Regions from separate parts of the Homo sapiens genome. Here region 1 is linked to region 2. The links are contacts of gene promoters, found by promoter capture Hi-C in blood cells and fetal thymus (Javierre and others, 2016). All regions are on one chromosome and are shown on one strand. The core of a region is centred on a gene start or on the middle of the fragment in contact, and the rest is flanking DNA. Distances in the headings are between cores, read along the strand shown. Region 1 overlaps MANSC1 (MANSC domain containing 1). Region 2 holds the start of ETV6 (ETS variant transcription factor 6).

Region 1 (2,700 bases), core at 26-2,525, 680 kb before region 2:
ACCTCCTTCCCCTCTGCTCTTCTGGTACCCCTCCCCCATTTCCCTGGTTTACACTAAGTTCATAAAGTACATTAAGAGGAAAGCTGGTCTATTGAAAATACTACTTTTCTTATATTTTCCAACTTAACAGCTTGACACAAATCTCCAAGGGGTTTACATAAGCTTTAAGTAGGCTGAATAAATAAAACCTTGAGTCAATTTAACTTAACAAGTATTTATTGAATATCCACATGTAGGCCAGAATCAGATTAGTAACCAGGTGCCTTGGAATTTTAAAATTTCTCCTCTCTTTATTAATGGATTTAGCGAGTGGAAATCAGGCTTTCTGTGATGGTTTATAAAGGTATTTTCCTGGCTCTCTTGGAGTTCTCTGTCCACCTTGCTGCAGTCTTTGTTGTGATGGGGAGACCACATGGGAGCGGTCCAGATGAGTGATGCTACGGGCCCAAACTGTTAGTGGCCGTGAGGATATAGGTTGTAGGGGACATCTGGAGTGGAAAGAGTGCTCTTCTCACACAGCTCTCTCTACTTACTGCCCCTAGGATGGTGGGTGCAACTGTGGCAAGGGCAGTCAGGGTAGGGGAATCCCTTAGAGGAATTCAGCAGTGACTAGTCTGGTTAGCCTTTCCCACAAGGCCCATTGAGTTATGAGCCCCCTCCTTTGGTTTGTAGAAAGAGAAGGTAGCAGCCTAGAACAGGTGAGAAGATGAGGTAGGTCCTTCTGCTCAAACATCCTCTCTCCGTATTTTACCAACACGATACTGACCTAGGTTAAAAAGCTACTCTTGGCCAGGCGTGGTGGCTCACGCCTGTAATCCCAGCACTTTGGGAGTCCAAGGTGGGTGGATCACCTGAGGTCAGGAGTTCTAGACCAGCCTGGCCAACATGGTGAAACCCCATCTCTACAGAAATACAAAAATTAGCCAGGCATGGTGGCAGACACCTGTAATCCCAGCTACTTGGGAGGCTGAGGTAGGATAATTGCTTGAGGCCGGGAGGGGGCGGTTGCAGTGAGCCAAGATCGCTCCATTGCACTCCAGCCTAGGCGACAGAGCAAGACTCTATCTCAAAAAAATAAAATAAAATAAAATAAAAATAAGCTACTCTTAGCCAGGCACATAGTGGCTCACATCTGTAATCTCAGCCCTTTGGGAGACTGAGGTGGGAGGATCACTTGAGCCCAGGAGGTCGAGGCTGCAGTGAGCCATGATCACGCCACTGCACTCCAGCCTGGGCGACAGAACGAGAGCCCATCTCAAAAAAAAAAACAAAACAACAACAACAAAAAAAAAACTAAAAAACTCTTAAAAAACCTGAGGACTCCTGGATGAATACTGTTATGTGCCTGTTTCTCAATTACCCCTGGCCTGAGTGAGGAACTTTTGGAACTCTTTGGCTCCCAGACTGTGGTGGGCACTACCGGTCAGCTGCCCAGCAGCCAGCCCTAGTCCCACTTCTGCCTCATTTGTTACAGGTTGGAAGTGCCAGGTTCAGGGATGGGCCTGTGACCCAAGTTTTAGCTGAAAGGAAACCTACTAGGGACTTCTAGGAGAGATTTTCTTGCTTGTAAAGGGAAGGCTGCACAAGGAGAAAAGCCCTTTCTAACCACATCCCCTTATTTCATGCTTGGGATGCTGACCATGTGAAGACTTGGTTGTTGGAGCTGTGGTGGCCTCCCTGCCATGATGAGGGGAGAAGGCACTGCCACACTGAGCGTGGCAGTGGGTACAGGAAGAGTCCAGTCTCCGGGATGCCTTGGTTAATTGACAGGACAAACCCTGGAACTGCCAACTTCCATCTTGTTCTGTAATAATAAATCTCTAATATTTGTACCACTTTCAGTCGAGTATTCTATGATTTATTACTTATTGATAGCAAACACTTAGAAAGTACTTACACTATGGGCCGGGCACAGTGGCTCACGCCTGTAATCCCAGCACTTTGGGAGGCCGAGGCGGGTGGATCACCTGAGGTCAGGAGTTCGAAACCAGCCTGGCCAACATGACGAAACCCCATCTCTACTAAAAATACAAAAATTAGCTGGGCGTGGCGGGGGCAGAGTTTGTAGTGAGCCAAGATTGCACCCCTGCACTCCAGCCTGAGCGACAGAGCAAGACTCCACAAAAGAAAGTACTTACACTATGCGCCAGATTCACTTTTACATATACTAACTCATTTCAATTCCACAACAACCTTTTGAATAATTTTAATCCTTATTCTGTAGATAAGGAAACTGAGACACAGCGAAGTTTAAGGGCCTTTCCAGAGGTCACTTGCCCAGATAGCCTGGCTCCGGAGTTGCCACTTTTTACATTCTTATAACTGGAATGATACACGGTGTAACCAAAAAGAGGTTTGCACTAGATTGGAAATGTTCTAGAAAGCTTTTTGTTGTTGTTTTTGTTGTTGTTGTTTGAGACAATTTTGCTTTGTCACCCAGGCTGGAGTGTAGTGGCGCAAACACAGCTTACTGCAGCCTCCAACTCTCGGGCTCAAGTAATCCTCCTGCCTCAGCCCCCCAAGTAGCTGGGACTACAGGCATGTGCCACCACGCCCAGCTAATTTTTGTATTTTTGTAGATACAGGGTTTTGCCATGTTGGCCAGGCTGGTCTCAAACCCCTGGACTCAAGCAATCTGCCCATTTCAGCCTTCTGAAGTGCTGGGATTACAGGCATGAGCCACCATGCCTGGCCCTAAAT
Region 2 (2,700 bases), core at 49-2,548:
CCAGCAGTGTGTTTACAAACATCTACCGCCCTGCATTTACAGAGTGCTGCTTAGATAGCCTCTCTGCACTGTCAAACACAGAAGGTCATTTTGCCTGGTTGCTTAGTTCTTCCTCTCCCTCCATCACAGGAGTTTTCTACTTTGGGATTGCTCAACTTTCATATGGATCGGAGTAAAATAACTATTCAGCAACTTTATTCACCTTGGTTTTAAAAAAAAATTCATTGTGCAATGCCTAGGAAAAGCTGACACCAGGACTGTCTCTCCGACAGCGCTTGCAATTACAATCAGACGAGGGGGAAAAAAATCCTGTCTGATCAGACCCAGAGAGTCCTTTAAAAAAATAAAAAGATTCTATCGCAGTGGAAACTGAACAACTTTTTTTCTAAGACGACCACCCCTCGGGAACAAAAGTTATATTTCAGTCACATGTTGGGTGTAGGAATAGGGAGCAGGTTTTTTTTTTTTGTTTTTTGTTTTTTTTTTTTTTAAGCGCACTAATTACGGGGGTGTTTTACGGTTCTGGAGACAATCCGGGTTGCTCTGACCAATTGTGACCGGCATTTCATTGTCAAAAAGCAAGGGGGTGGGGGCCGAGGAGCCGGCAGGGGCTCGGCGGTGGGGGGGAGTAGCAAGGTTACGCTAAAGGGTACAGCAGCCACCGCGAGCTGCATCTCTTTCCCTCTCGCCCCAAATAATTTCCTGCGAACAGAGCAACTGCAACAGCCTGCTCTGAGGAGCCCAGCACGACTGCCCTGGCCGGTGCAGCTCAGGGTTTCCACCACGTAGAAGGAGGGGAGAAGATTTTTACCTTAATGCTACACTGAGCAGGAGTCTCAGACATGTCTCACAGCGAGAGAGATCAGGAAGTTCTCAGGTTTTTTCCACTTTCCTTTCCTCTCCCCAACCCAGAAAGGCTCCACGGCCAGCCAGACGCGGTCATTTAAGAAGTTTCTTCCAGCATCTCTCCCGGCAGCCGCCCCGGGGGTCTGGAGCGCGCGGGGCGGGGCGGGGCGGCCGGCGGAGTTGGGCGCGCGGGGCGGCGGGGGCGTGGGAGACGGGCCCGAGCGCGGCGGCGGGGTCTGCAGGTCGCGGCGCGGCGCGGGGACCCGGGACGCAGCCCGGCCGGCCTCCCGGTCTCTCCTCCCACCCGCAGCCGGCGCCCCCGCCCCCCGCCCTCCCGCGGCTCTCCCTCGCTCTCTCGAATGTTTTCCTTCCTGGAAGAGAGAAACTGAAAGGCAGAACTGAGAAAGCTCTTTGCTCATTGATCTTGAGAGTTTCAGTGCAGAAACTGACGTGAATTCCCAGCACTGAGCTCTGCCTCTTAAAGGAGCCACCAGGAAATAAAAGCTCGGGTTACAGCCCGGCATCGGGGAAATAAAAGCTGCGCGGGGGAGGGGCGGCCGCGGGGGCGCGGGCGGAGGAAACCCGGGTAGCGGGGCCGCGTGGGGCCGCGGCTGCGAGCGGGGCGAGCGGCGCAGCCCCCCAGGCCGGCCCCCGGTGCGGGCGCCCGCCCTCCACGCCGCGAGACCTCCCGCTGGCCGAGCCAATTTCCGGGCTTAAGGAAGACACCTTTAAAAAACGTTACATTGTGGCCCCAGACACCACAAAACAGGTTTTATTAAACTCCTCCCACCTCCCCTGGCTCCGTCTCTTGGATACATCGATGTGCACAAGGGTTTTGAAACGTTTCACTAAGCGCAGATGCAACGAAAGTAATTATCTATGAAGGGCCATTCCGGTTAGGACGCGGAATCCGAAGGAGGAAATAAAACAATAGCCTTTGTTCTGCTTCTCGACCGCTGCCTCTTTAAGAGAATCCACCAGGAAATGGGAGATCGGGTTACAGCCTGCACACGGGGAAATGTGGGGAGAGCGGGCGCCCGAGCGCGACGCCGGAGACAAAGCCGGGGCGGCCGCGCCGCAGACGCTGGGGGACCGTCGGGCGGGGGGATTCCCGGGGAAGGTGGGCGCCCCGGAAAGAGGTGGCGCCACGCGCCCGCTCGGGGATGCGGCGGCCGCGGGCGCTTCCCGAGCCGAGCACGCGCTCCGGGAAGGGAAGGCTGCAGGGCAGTTATCAAAGGCAGCTGAGTTCCTTTTCCTGACCTCCCCCTCCTGTTTCGAAATCCACTGCCCTTTTAAAGAAATAGCGGCCGCTACCAACCGAAATAGGTGACTCGACTACAAAGTTGGCAGGACGTGTTCCTGCAGATAATACCCCTCCCCAGGACCGCTTCTCTGAAACCGTCATTGGCCGGTTGATTGGATGGCCCTGGGATCCTGCAGGGGGAGGAATATTTGGTTGGAAAAGCAGTTGAGGGGGGTTAAGGCCGTTGGGGCTGAAGGGTCTAGCCCTGAGCACAAGTGATCTGATCACTCTATTATTTTTATTATTATTTACACTCTCTTAAAGTGTCCACCACAAAAAACTGAGAACATTATCATTATACTTAAATTCTAACCTTGTTAGCACATATTGGGGGTTTAATATGTGGATGTGTAATGTAAAAGGAAATTTGTTATAATTTCTTAATAGAGTAATATATTAAATATGGTATAAATATGTATATACGCATATATACCCATATATGTTACCTGCACTGGACCAGGACACATTTCCCCGAGTCTCCCCACCCTACAGATTTTTCCTACCCACTTTCCTTCACCTCTTCACATTATCAAATGTGTTGAGACTTGTAC

Evidence for each region. Contacts are between HindIII fragments. The CHiCAGO score rates a contact against its expected background, and 5 or more counts as called.
Region 1: a fragment that was not itself captured here is called in contact with the fragment with the promoter of ETV6 in region 2 in 2 of 17 cell types (total CD4 T cells and total CD8 T cells); the score reaches 5.7 in total CD4 T cells.

Annotation. Positions count from the first base shown.
Region 1 is chr12:12,325,197-12,327,896 of GRCh38, reverse strand. MANSC1 (MANSC domain containing 1) reads left to right here. Exons shown (of 4, transcript NM_018050.4): 4 at 1-1,841. Among named protein-coding and RNA genes, the nearest start is that of MANSC1, 24 kb to the left of the region's middle. RefSeq lists an enhancer at 2,090-2,590. The HindIII fragment of the contact is 2,222 bases long and covers 165-2,386 here.
Region 2 is chr12:11,648,272-11,650,971 of GRCh38, reverse strand. It overlaps ETV6 (ETS variant transcription factor 6), which reads right to left and starts at 1,298. Exons shown (of 8, transcript NM_001987.5): 1 at 812-1,298. The coding sequence starts at 844. RefSeq lists silencers at 946-1,105, 1,116-1,165, 1,376-1,585, 1,876-2,115 and an enhancer at 2,296-2,395. The HindIII fragment of the contact is 9,207 bases long and covers 1-2,700 here.